Linked DNA regions of Homo sapiens: region 2 is linked to region 1. Evidence: promoter capture Hi-C in 16 types of primary human blood cells and fetal thymus (Javierre and others, 2016). All regions are on one chromosome and are shown on one strand. The core of a region is centred on a gene start or on the middle of the fragment in contact, and the rest is flanking DNA. Distances in the headings are between cores, read along the strand shown. Region 1 holds the start of MRO (maestro). Region 2 holds the start of LOC124904303 (a long non-coding RNA gene).

What was found. The method cuts DNA at HindIII sites, captures the fragments that hold promoters and counts their contacts. A CHiCAGO score of 5 or more calls a contact.
Region 2: a contact is called between a fragment that was not itself captured here and the fragment with the promoter of MRO in region 1, in 1 of 17 cell types (neutrophils). The highest score is 5.5, in neutrophils.

The regions. Positions count from the first base shown.
Region 1 is chr18:50,816,543-50,822,975 of GRCh38, reverse strand. It overlaps MRO (maestro), which reads left to right and starts at 2,960. Exons shown (of 8, transcript NM_031939.6): 1 at 2,960-3,079; 2 at 3,274-3,395. RefSeq lists enhancers at 2,756-2,805, 2,642-3,275. The HindIII fragment of the contact is 17,012 bases long and covers 1-6,433 here.
Region 2 is chr18:51,015,274-51,021,706 of GRCh38, reverse strand. The region is part of intron 1 of LOC107985152 (a long non-coding RNA gene); the gene reads left to right. LOC124904303 (a long non-coding RNA gene) reads left to right here and starts at 3,421. Exons shown (of 2, transcript XR_007066372.1): 1 at 3,421-4,834; 2 at 4,929-5,330. The HindIII fragment of the contact is 8,731 bases long and covers 1-6,433 here.

The DNA.
Region 1 (6,433 bases), core at 1,711-4,210:
TTGGCTCTTATCAATTCCTGCCTTGCGCTGTGGGCACGTAAGCCCCAGTCCCAAGTCCTCTACTGGTTGATTCTCCTTGAGAGCGCAGTCCGAGTGTTGGTCCCACCTGCCGAGCACTCTGCCTCCATGGAAGCAGGATCTCAGTAAACACTGGAAGAAAGAAGGAAAGAATGAGAAGCTGCTAAACCCAACCTGTGGCTAAGGAGGTGGCTGATTTTACTTCTTTTTAGAAGTGAAAATCAAGACAGAGTTTAGCTTAGCTGGGGGGCGGGGGGCGGGGGGCGGGGGATGTATTTCCTGAAAGAAGATGAGAGGGAGGAAACTTAAATCTCTCTCTTTAAGATAAATTTCCTGGCAGGGCCCAGTGGCTCATGCCTGTAATCCCAGAGGCAGGCAGATCACCTGAGGTCAGGAGTTGGAGACCAGCCTGGCCAACATGGTGAAACCCCGTCTTTATCAAAAATACAAAAATTAGCCGGGTGTGGTGGCAGGCGCCTGTAGTCCCGCTACTCGGTAGGCTGAGGCGTAAGATTCGCTTGAACCTGGGAGGCGGAGGTTGCAGTGAGCCAAGTTCCCCCCACTGCACTCCAGCCTGGCTGACAGAGTGAGACCCTGTCTCAAAAATAAAATAAAATAAACTAAAAAAGATAAATTTCCTGATTACACATTGTAATACACATGTAATTCACATACAAGGTGAATTGTGGATTGCTTTAGCTTTGCCTGTTGCCCTTTTCATCAGTAATGCAGGCTAAATAATTACCCTCTTTGCTTTTTCCAGTTGTGCCAGCCCCAGTGTACTTCTGGCAATAAGGAAATGTTAATTGAGAATGAAAATAGAGTCATTAAATCCTTACATTAAATAATTATGGTGTGTTCTTTTAAGGACATCATGTTATAGATATGCAAATATGTTGCAATCAAATTATCAAACTTGCCCTCTAATTTCCAAAGAACTGTACTGTGACCCAGGGCCACATAAGGAGAATCTTAGACTCTTGTGGGCATCATGCGTTGATTTTGATGCTTCCCAAGTTTGTGCTGTGTCTGGGATTCTCTAGGGGCAGTTAGCTGCATCCAGGCCGTTTATGAGAAGTGTTTAGTAGAGCTGAGGTCAGCACAGTGCAAGTATCAGAAAGGCTCCTGGATATCAATTCCAGTTCTGGCCCTGATGTTCTTTGTAGTTTTAAGTCAAACAGGAAAATTTATCTGCATATTAGTTCTCCTATTTAACAGTAGAGAAGATACTATTTCTCTGTCAAATATCTTAAAACATGAATACAAAGAAACTTTAGACACAAGGGGTTATTAATAGTTTGTTGTGTTTCTGTTCATGGGGAGGAGGGGATGTAAATTTCAGTTCTGATTCACAAAGGAGATTTTGCAGAGAATCTTTACAATCATACTTTGGGCTTCCTTTCTCCAGTCTCCTCTGTTCTTCGGATAATCTTATTACCTTTTTGGTCATTCTAAGCACTACATGGATTAGTTCAGTATATAGATTATGGCCGTATAAACCTCATTCTCGCTCTTGGCAGATAACCTAACTCTGGTTTTACTGAAAAGATTAAAGCTAATTTGGAAGAATTGAACTCGCCCATTCCTCTCAGTTTTGTGTTGATGTATCTTCATCTCTGTGGCTGCCTCCCAGTTGCAGGCAGAGGCAGCCATCTTTCTTCCTCCTCCAGAGCTAACCCTTTCCCTCGTGCCCTTGATGCCCCCTCCACCTCTTCCTATTACCACTACTTGGCACCAGCCACATATTAGGGCTCCCTTGCAACCACTTTCAAACAAGGCCAGGCTTTATTCCATTTCAAAAAGCACACAAGAAAACCAAAATGCTTTTGCCTGACCTTGCTGTCTCTTCTAGTCTATTTATTGCTTTCCTTTTGCAGCAAGACATCTCAATTTCCTCTTTCCTCATAGCCCCTTAGTTTTGCAGTCTAGCTTCCTTTCTCTGTCACTCTATTGAAATTGTGTCCTCAAATGTCACAGTGGTTCCCTTGTAACTTAATCTGAAGAGGGTGGTGTTTTAGCCTCATTCTTCTTATTTTCTCAGCAGCATCGATTTTCTTTCTGCCTTTTTCTTTCATCTTCCACTCTGACATAGTTCTCTGGTTTATATTTTTCTGTTTATCTCCTGGGTTTTCTAGACCAGTCCAGTGCATAGCATCATGGCTGAGTCCAAGCTCTTACATTAGCCTGCCTGTAGCTGAATTTTAACTGCCACAAATTAACTGCATGACCTTTGTCAAGGTAATCTCCCTGTGCCTCAGTTTCTCCAGCCTTAAAATGGAGACTATAGTAGGAGTATTAACCTTTGGTTTGATGTAACAATTGAATGAGATAGTCTATGTAATATTTATCACAACATTTGGCACACAGAAGTTTTAATTGAATGTTATCTATTAGCATAACAATAAGTGCCTCTGTCTTTGAAAATATAACTGTTCTTTTTTCCTTTCAGGACATATTTTCTCCCTTTATGACCCAATGCAGAGCGAGACGATAACTAATTATTGTTAAATAGATTTATGCACGTGTTTGGAGAGTCAGGGAAGGAGGGCTGATGAGAGAGAGAGGCTCCTAAATTCTGCAGGTGCTGTAATTCCCCGGTTTTAATTTTGCTTTGCTTTTTACCAATAAATCATTTTGAGAGCTTAAATCGCTCCTTTCGGGACATACGGTGTTTCTTGAGCAGGAAGGGACGTCAACGGTTAAAGCTCTTGTTGTTGGTGCAACAATCAGCCACGATGAGGCTGCTTGGCATGGAACACAGTGTCCCATCCTTAGATTAAATGCGCTCTAACAGGATTATGTAAGGAAGGAGGCAGCCACGGCGGCGGCTTTGTGCAGGGGTCGCCTGGAACCCGTCCATTGAGTCATGCCGCCATCTCGCGGCCGCATGGGGAACGGGCCTTGGCAGGGAGGTTTTGTTTGGTGCAGAGGAAAGGTCCCCAGAATTGCCATCTGCAGAATTTCTGCAGAAAGTGTCGACCAGGCTGGCATGAGGGAAGAAGGAGGGGAAATCACAGCAAGGAGAAGGAAAAACACCTCAGCATGGCGTGGGGAAGCAAAGGTAGCAAGTCATGCTTGTGCCACCCTACAATATTCTTGTCGGTTTCATTCCAGAACAATTCCCTCCCCTGCCCAAATACTCTATAAACTTTGACTTTCCCCTCTTATTTGATTCTCACTTTCCAACACTCTGTGCCGACCCGTTATCCTGGACAGACCCTGCGTCACCTCCTAATTTCCCTTCTTGTATGTTAGGAATTCAGGGCTGGGAAAATTTAGCCGAGTCATCACATTTGGCTACTACCCGGGAAAGCAGCCCTCCCGAGTCAGGAACGGGCTCCGGTTCATCACGTGGCAGCCGCCTGCAGGAGCCGCAGGTAAGGGACACTGTTGGCCGGGGCAGCCAGATGCAGCGGGAGGCGTCCTGGCTGCACTTGGGTTCCCAAAACCTTTCTGGAATGTCACTCTGGTCACCAGTATGGGAGCTCGACCTCTAGGGGGTAGGATTTGGTAATGTTCTCTTTGTAAAACTGAAGTGGGCAATGTTGACCAGGAAGCTGATTTTGTTTGCTTTTCACAAACTATGTTAATCGATCAATAGTTGGGTTATAGATCATTCTATTGTCAGCAATATAATAGAATGGCAGGGACTCAGGGAAGATATTGACACTTTAAACTGAAATGTCTATGCGGTCTGTCTTCCCTCGTTCAGCTCACAGGACATTGCCTGGGAGCTGAACCTAGGCTTATAGCACAGTGACTGAAAGGATATCTTTCAGAGTCCTAAAATCTGCTCTGCCAGTATTTGACTTTGAGTTAATTGTTCAACATTACTTTAAGCCCAGTTTCTTCTTTTCTAAAATGAAGACGATTTTTTTAATATTAATTTTTTTTTTCATTTTTTTGAGACAGGGTCTTGTTGTGTTGCCCAAGCTGGGGTGCGGTGGCCCGATCTCGGCTCACTGCAACCTCTGTCTCCTGGGTTCAAGTGATTCTTCTGCCTCAGCCTCCTGAGTAGCTGGGACTACAGGTGTGCACCACCATGTCTGGCTAATTTTTGTATTTTTAGTAGAGGCGGGGTTTCACCATGTTGCTCAGGCTGGTCTTGATCTCCTGACCTCAAGCAATCTGCCTGCCTCAGCCTCCCAAAATGCTGGGATTTATAGGCATGAGCCACCACACGCAGCCTACTATTGTCATTTATAAGTTCAGTGTTGGAAGGATTTTTAAGCAATCTAACAGTTTCTTCTGCTCATTTTACAGATGAGATAAAATCAAAGTGTTTTATAATTTTGGCCTTCATAATATACCTTTTGGCTTCAATAAATAAAAGGATTATTGACCAAAAATCTAATATTTTGAGTCAGAATCATTCAAGTTTGCAAAAGCAGATGGGAGTCAGTGTAAAGCATAAAACAGTCTTCTAAGTTACCCCAAATCCATGTATCTTCAGTAAGATCAGGTAGAGCACAACCTGGCAATGAACACAAGCCCCAGCCGGGGTCTTGGGGTTCGTGAAAACCAAGGGGTCTGCACATAGCTCACTCAGGGGTATGTTCCAGAGGAAGAAGAATTCGTTGAAGAACGTGTGCAGAGATGAGTAAAACTATAAGCAGAGCTGTGTCTTTGGCTTCCAAATGGCCAGGTGACCTCCTGGTCTTGGTCATACAAGGCTAGGCATATGTGGTGACCATAGAAACCCACCAGAAAATGTAATTCTCCTAGGAAAGAATGCCTGTCTTACGGGTGAGAGGGCTTGGAGAAGGAGTTAGAACATCCTAAGAAATCTTGGAATCTGTATACTACGTTCATTCACAGTGTGTTTAAAACGATCCTCTCTGAGATCCTGTGTTGCAACAGATGAGAATGATCCTTTTGTTTTTGTTGGATTGGGTGTAAAGGACTTCATGTTTTAGAAAGGAGGGAGGCACTGCAGGCAGGAAGGAGGGCATGGGGCGGGGGGTGGGAGTTCTTTAAGAAGCTGCAAGTACAAGAAACACAAGGCTCCAGCGAGGGGCCTTGTGACCTTGATTTAACTCCTAATTTGTTTTATTTTTTAATGAAACTTTTAACTGAAGAATAGCATCCTAGAAAAGTTGCATAAATCATAGACAAACAGCTGCTGTGATTTTAATTTTATTTTTAAAGTGAAATTCAAAGTGCTTCACAAACATATGGTATCAATCTCTTGTTCTCTGCAAAGACACTGACCTCTTTCTCTTTCTCATCCCTCGGCCCCAGCTCCCTCCCTGACTTCCATGGTTTCTGCTACTGCATGGGCTCGGATTAGCTTTATTTAATTTCCAGGATAGAGGTTCTTCTATACCAACAGGCGTGTAGCATCACCAGGCACCACATACAAAAAGTGCAATGCTCAGGCCCGACACTCCCTGAGATTCAGATCCAATAATTCTGGGGCAGGCCTGGAGTTTATTGTTATTATTATTATTTATTTTTATTTTTTAGAGACAGGATCTTGCTCTGTCAACCCAGCTGGAGTGCAGTGGCGCAATCATGGCTTACGGCAGCCTCAGACTCCTGGGCTCAAGGGATGCTCAGCCTCCCAAAGTGCTGGGATTACAGGTGTGAGCCACTGCACCCACCTCTGGCTTGGAGTTTGTAACACGTACCCCGGGGAATTCTGATATAGAAGGTGCAACCAACACTGAGAAATGCTCTACTTTTCCTGCACCCAAGATTGAGATGATCCCTGACAACCTGTAAGATTAAACCACATCACAGTTTTTCTCTTGTGATGGGGAGGTAGGGTTTGCTAGAAGAGGTAGTGAGCTCAAGATGTAACTCTGTGAGTTTCTCTAATCACAGATCGAATCTTCCAGGTGGAGCCACTCAGTTCTCATTTACTTTGCCGTGCATGGGAGCATGACCTTGAGTTCTACTTACGCCTATGAAGGCGATGCTGGCTGCTTGGTTTCTGAAGCCTGGGGAAGTTGCCTTGGCTGGCTAAAGCCCTTAGCTGTTATGCTAATCTTGCAAGAGAAGTCAAGCAGAAAGAACAGGGTAGCAGGTTTGTTTTCTTTACCAATGGAAAGGAGCTTCAGGCATGATTTTCTTATGCCTTGGAACAGAGATACCAGCTGTTTTATAATGAGGCCCACACCCTCCTTGGTGAGTGGGCCCTCAGCTTGAGGGAGTTTTGCTTCTTTTATTTTGATTTTGAAATTTGAGATTTTTTCATTTGAAGGTAATCTTAATGCTATTAAATTCATAAATATGCTAATTTAAATACCCAATCCTATTTATTTAAAATAGACGTTGCAAGCGTACAAATATTCTCTCCACATGTCAGCACCCATTTAGATCATGGTTTGGAAATGGGGAGAATAGAATTCCCTTAAACTGCAAGTCAGCTGGTGTTTCTTTACAGCTAACGTTAGCAAAATTTATGCAAAGC
Region 2 (6,433 bases), core at 1,807-4,306, 200 kb before region 1:
GGAAGATGGATCTGGGGCCAGACAACGAAGGTAGCTGTGCTGATGAATTGAACTCCATTCAGGACCAGATATGCTTGGGATTTTTTCTTCTTTTTTTAAAATCTTATTGAGGTATAATTTACATATTATAAACTCGACGCAGTGGACAATTTGATGCATTTGGGCAAATATATGCAATGTGTAACCACCACTACCAATCAAGTATTAGAACACCTCTATCCCTCCAAAAAGTTCCCTTATGCCCCTTTGCAGTCAGTGCCACCTCCCAACCATATGTTCCTGTCCCCAGGCAACCACTGCCATGCTGTCTGTTCCTAAGGCATTTTTTCTAGAATTTCACATAAATGGAATATTTCCATGTGCAGTCTTTTGTATTTGGGTTCTTTCACTCAGTATGTTGTTTTTGAGATCCAGAATGTTACTGTGTATCAGTAGTTAGTTCCTTTTTATTGCTTAGTAGTATTTCATTTTATGTATATGCAAAGCCACAGAAACAGAGGTAGATTAACAGATCGGTGGTTGTCAGGGGAATTGGGAGGTACAGGGTTTCTTCATGAGGTGATGGAAATGTTGTGGAATCGGATAGTGCTGAGAGTTGTACAACATTGTAAATATACTAAGAGACACTGAATGTACACTTTGAAATGGTTAAAATGGTGAACTCTAGGAAAATTTTATGTTTAAAAAGCTAGATTTTAGCAAGCACCACAAGCATGTTACTAAGCGAATAATCTTTGCAGTCTCACTGACTTGATTCAAGTCCCCATGTCACTCCTTACTAGCTATGAGACCTTGGACAAATGATTCTAAGTCTCAGATTCTTCTTCTGTGAAGTAGGGGTAAAAATACAGCCCATCTCACAGAGCTGCAGTAAAAACGAAATGAGACAATGCACTTGAAGCACTTGGCATGGCGCTGACAAGTGCCTGATCAGTGGCAGCTTCTTGTTTAATCCACCTGCGCCTGCCATGTGTCAAGCCCATTACGTGTCTTCATCTATTTGATTCAACATGAAGGAGGGACTATTCCCAATTTACAAGTGATGAAACTGAACCGTTAAGAGATTAAAAAGTTACTTGTCCCCATATTGAGGGACATTCTGTAACATAACTAGTCTATAATTTTCAAAAATGTCAATATCATAAAAGACAAAGCCTGAAAAACTGTTCCAGATCAAAGGAGACTAAATACACAGGACAAGTAAATGTCATACATGATCCTGAATTGAATCTGGGGAAAATTTTTGCTACGAAGGACCTTATTGGGACAATAGACATGATTGGAAAATAGCTTATAGATTAGACTATAGGTATATAATAGATTATAGATTAGATATAATAGACTATAGATTAGATAATAGTAAGGTTTCCTGATTTTGATAACTGTAGCATGCAGGCCAGAACTAGGGCGAGACAACAGAGGCTCCTAGGGTACAAAGTTGAAGGAAGCCCTCTTGAAGGGCCACTCACGCTCAGGCCTTGTTAGCCTCCATCTAGTTCTAGCCCTGGTGTTGTCGTTATGTAGGAAAATGTCCTTGTTTTCAGAGCTACACACTGAAGTATTGAGGGTAAAGACATGCCAGTATATGCAATTAACTCTCCAAGAATTCAGGAATAATCATCATACATAGGTAGAGCGAAAAAAATGATAAAGTATACACTGCAAAATGTTAATAGTTGGTGAGTCTAGGTAAAGTATTTACAGAAGTTCTTTGTACTATTCTTTTTTTTTTTTTTTTTTTTGAGATGGAGTCTCGGTCTGTCACCCAGGCTGGAGTGCAGTGGCACGATCTCGGCTCACCACAACCTCCGCCTCCCGGGTTCAAGCCATTGTCCTGCCTCAGTCTCCCAAGTAGCTGGGATTACAGGTGTGTGCCGCCACGCCCAGCTAATTTTTTTTATTTTGAGTAGAGACAGGGTTTCACCATGTTGGCCAGGCTGGTCTTGAACTCCTGACCTCGTGATCCACCCATCTCGGCCTCCCAAAGTGTTGGGATTACAGGCATGAGCCACCATGCCCGGCCCTTTGTACTATTCTTGCGACTTTTCTGTGAGTTTGATTTTTTTTTTTTTTAATTTTAGGTCACTTGTCCCTGTGATGAGGTTCACAGCAGAGCTGGAATTTGAACTCTCTGCCCACAGAGTGTGGCATGGTGCTATCTGCAACCCAAATAGCTCTACCCTGAAGCCAGGGCCTGGGAGGGCCTGCTGATCAGATGCCTCAGAGCAGCATTTCTCCTACTTTAACATGCACACAGATCACTTGGGGAGCATGTTAAAAAGTAAATCCTGATTCCTTGGATTTGAGGGTGGGCTGGAGACTCTTCATTTCTAATAAGCTCTCAAGTGAGGCCAATACCGCTGGTTCCAGAGGCAAAGCCCTAGAATCCAGGGTCTAGAACTGTGTAGGACCTAAATCTAAAATGTACTGGGGAGGGGAATAATGGAACACTAAATTATTTAGGAGACAGTTCACAGTCATGATTCTACCCACCTAAAATGCTTTGTGATGAAAGTTAAATTTTCGGACATCGTTTCCGTTGAATAAACATGTAGAGTGAGCCTACTGGTTGCCATATCTTAGAATGCAGAATTGAATGGCAATGGATATGAACTGAAACACAGTTTATCCAGTCTTTCCCTTCCCCCAGTAGACGCCAGATCAGACTTACATCTAGACAGATTTTAGTCCCTCAGGTGAACTTGGCATCTAACGGTTTTCCTCAGTGTCACAGGTACAAGAGAGAACATCACAAGCAGGGAGTGCTGGAAATGACAAGTTCATCCAAAACAAACCTGCCAGGCACGGTGGCTCACGCCTGTAATCCCAGTACTTTGGGAGGCCGAGGCAAACCATTTGAGGTCAAGAGTTTGAGACTGGCCTGGCCAACATGGCAAAACCTCGTCTCTGCTAAAATACAAAAATTAGCCAGGCATGGTGGTATGTGCCTGTAATCCCAGCTACTCAGAAGGTGGAGGCAGGAGAAGCGCTCGAGCCAGGGAGGTGGAGGTTGCACTGAGCTGAGATTGCACCATTGCACTCCAGCCTGGGCTACAGTGCTATGGTGTCATTTCAGTGATAAAAGTTAATGAATATCTGTGTTACTTTCAACTCTGAGGAGGAAAACAATCTACCTAAACACCACCAAATTATTTCCATATTCTTTAAGCATTTTTCTTATTTATTTATTTATTTTTTTTTGAGAGGGAGTCTCACTCTGTCACTCAGGCTGGAGTGCAATGACATGATCTCGGCTCATTGCAACCTCCACCTCCCAAGTTCAAGCAATTCTCCTCCCTCAGCCTCTTGAGTACTTGGGATTACAGGTGCTCACCACCACACCTGGCTAATTTTTGTATTTTTTAGTAGAGATGGGGTTTCACCGTGTTGGCCAGGCTGGTCTTGAACTCCTGACCTCAGGTGATCCGCCCACCTCGGCCTCCCAAAGTGCTGGGATTACAGGCATGAGCCACCGTGCCCGGCCTCTTTAAGCATTTTTCTTGGGAGACAACCTTGAGGAAAAATAATTTTAGCTTAGACCAGAATCACAGTTACTATTTTTTTTTAAACTTTTAAGAATAATCAAGAGTTACCTTTTTGAGGTAAGAATTAGGCCCAGCAGATGGGTATTGAAGAGAGAAGGAGACTGTGAGCGCTTGGGTGAGCACAGACCTCATGTCTGCTCCTCAGGACAAACTGTGTGTAAGGGGCAGAGAAGGGAGGGGATTCCAAGACCCAGCCCCTCCTCCAAGGAAAGATGGAAAATCCATCACTGCTCTGAGGCTCCCAGAACACTCGCCCCTCTAATGTCTGCTGTCCCTTTCTCCCAGAGCTGCTGCTGCCTCTCTGCTTTTCCTTCCTCCCCTTTCCTTTCCCTAGCCGACTTTTGCTTCCCTGGCACTTCTGACATGCTTCTCCCAGCTGCTGCCCTTGAACTGCGGCCCCCTTCCTTCCCTCTGTGCTGTACCACCCAGGGGAGCCGGCTCCCAGGATGAGCTGCAGCACAGTGCTTTCTCAGGTTGAGGGAGCCTCCTCCAGGGCTCGGGTACCAAGGCATCTACATCTTTAATCAGGAAGGAAATAGCACCACATAACCCTGGGCATAGGTGTTTCCCTCCCTCCTCCTTTTCAGGGAGGCTGGTTCCCAGGTCACCTCCTACCTGGTTCAACAATAACATCCCCCATCTTTAAGAAAAATGCTGTGGTTCAAAAGCCCCTCTGGGCCCAGCTGCCTTCCCCAGTACACAGATCATCTCCATTGCCAGGGAGCTGCAAAGTGGCTCTGCACTTGCCAGAGGCTACACTGGTTAGTTAGAATGCGGGTCCTGACTGCAGGCCTAACCACAGTCCACAAAAGCTCCCCAGAGAGTGTTCTTTGTTGGTAGGTTTGAAACAAAGGCCCAGGAATGCGGCTTACACAGTCCTGACCCTACAGCTGGCCCTCCATCCTCACTGCTCTCCCAGGAGAAGATGGGAACTGGCTTCTTCAGCCAAGGACAAAGCCACGGTGGACAATCGCAGACCCAGGCCCAAGGTTTGCCCTGTCTCCTGCCTCCATCTTTACAAATCTCATGCATGAGGCCAACTCCCCTCCTACTGATGACTCCATCTCCTCCGTTGATCTCATCCAAACAACCTCAAGGCACTCCACTGGCACTTGATTTTGTAGTCTTGTGTGTATACATTCCACTTCATTATGAGACGGTAGATAGAGGCTAAGACAATGGATGAGCTTTGAAGTCAAATGGACAAGCATTCAAATCCTGGCTCTATCTCTGTGCCCTCCTGGCAAGTTACTGAACCTGTCTCACCTTCAGTTGCTTCGGCTATAAAAGTAGGTATAACACTTGTTCAAATTTTTCTTTTCCTAAGATTTAAATGAAAATTCTCATCCAACAAAAATTTATTGAATTTCTACTCTTTGCCAGGCACTGCTCTAGATGGAGATACAGCGTGAGACAAATTTCCTGGTCCTTAAAGAACTTATTAAATACATTCTTTTTTTTTTTTTTTTTTTTTTTTTTGAGACAAAGTCTTGCTCTGTCACAAGGGTGGACTGCAGTGGCGCGATCTCAGCTCACTGCAACCTCTGACTCCCTGGTTCAAGCGATTCTCCTGCCTCAGCCTCCCAAGTAGCTGGGATTACAGGCACGTGCCACAACGCCCAGCTAATTTTTGTATTTTTAGTAGAGACAGGGTTTCACCATGTTGGCCAGGATGGTCTCAATCTCCTGACCTTGTGATCCACCCACCTTGGCCTCCCAAAGTGCTGGGATTACAGGCGTGAGCCACTGTGCCCGAACTTATTAAATACATTCTTTATAAAGACACATACATGCATATGTTTGTTGGTGCATTATTCACAATAGCAAAGACATGGAATCAACCTAAATGCCCATCAGTAATAGACTGGATAAAGAAAATGTGGTATATATACACCATGGAATTCTATGCTGTCATAAGAATGAACAAGATAATGTCCTTTGCAGGGACGTGGATGGAACTGGAGGCCATTATCCTTAGCAAACAGATGCAGGAACAGAAAATTAAATACTGCATGTTCTCACTTATAAGTGGGAGATAAATGATGAGAACACATGGATACATGGAACCACACGCACTGGGGCCTGTCAGATGAGACGGGATGAGAGGAGGGAGAGGATCAGGAAGAACAGCTAATGGATGCTGGGCTTAATACCTGGGTGACGGGATGATCTGTGCAGCAAATCACCATGGCACATGTTTACCTATGTAACAAACCTCCACATGCTGCGCATGTACCCAGGAACTTAAAAGTTAGAAATGAAAAAAAAACAAACTTACATTCTAGTGGGTGATACATATGATTAACATGTGGCCAAACAGATAATATAATATTAAAGTGATAATTGCAATTTTATTAAAAAAAAAAAAGACCATAGAGAATTAGATTGGGGGAGGAGGTGGAGTACTATTTTAGATAGGGCAATCAGGAGAGGTTCTCTGAGAGGGTGACATTTGAGTAGGGACCTGAATGATGGAGAGAGCTATGCAAAAATCTGGAGAGAGCTGATGTTAAGATCCTGAAGCAGAACTAAGCTCAGTGTATTCACATGACAGAAGTAAGGTCAACACAGTTAGGGCAGGATAAGAGAGGAGTGAAGTAGGAGGTGAGATGGGAGAGAAAATACATGTGGAAGAGGCTCCATAAATATTCTTTTTTTTTTTTTTTTTGGTGAGACAGAGGCTCTATCACCCAGGCTGGAGTACAGTGGCACGATCTTGGCTTATTGCAGCCTCTGCCTCCTGGGTTCAAGTGAGCACATCCAGCTAATTTTTTGTATTTTTAGTAGAGATGGGGTTTCACCATGTTGTCCAGGCTGGTCTCAAACTCCTGACCTCAAGTGATCCACCTGCCTCAGCCTCCCACAGTGCTGGGATTACAGGTGTGAGC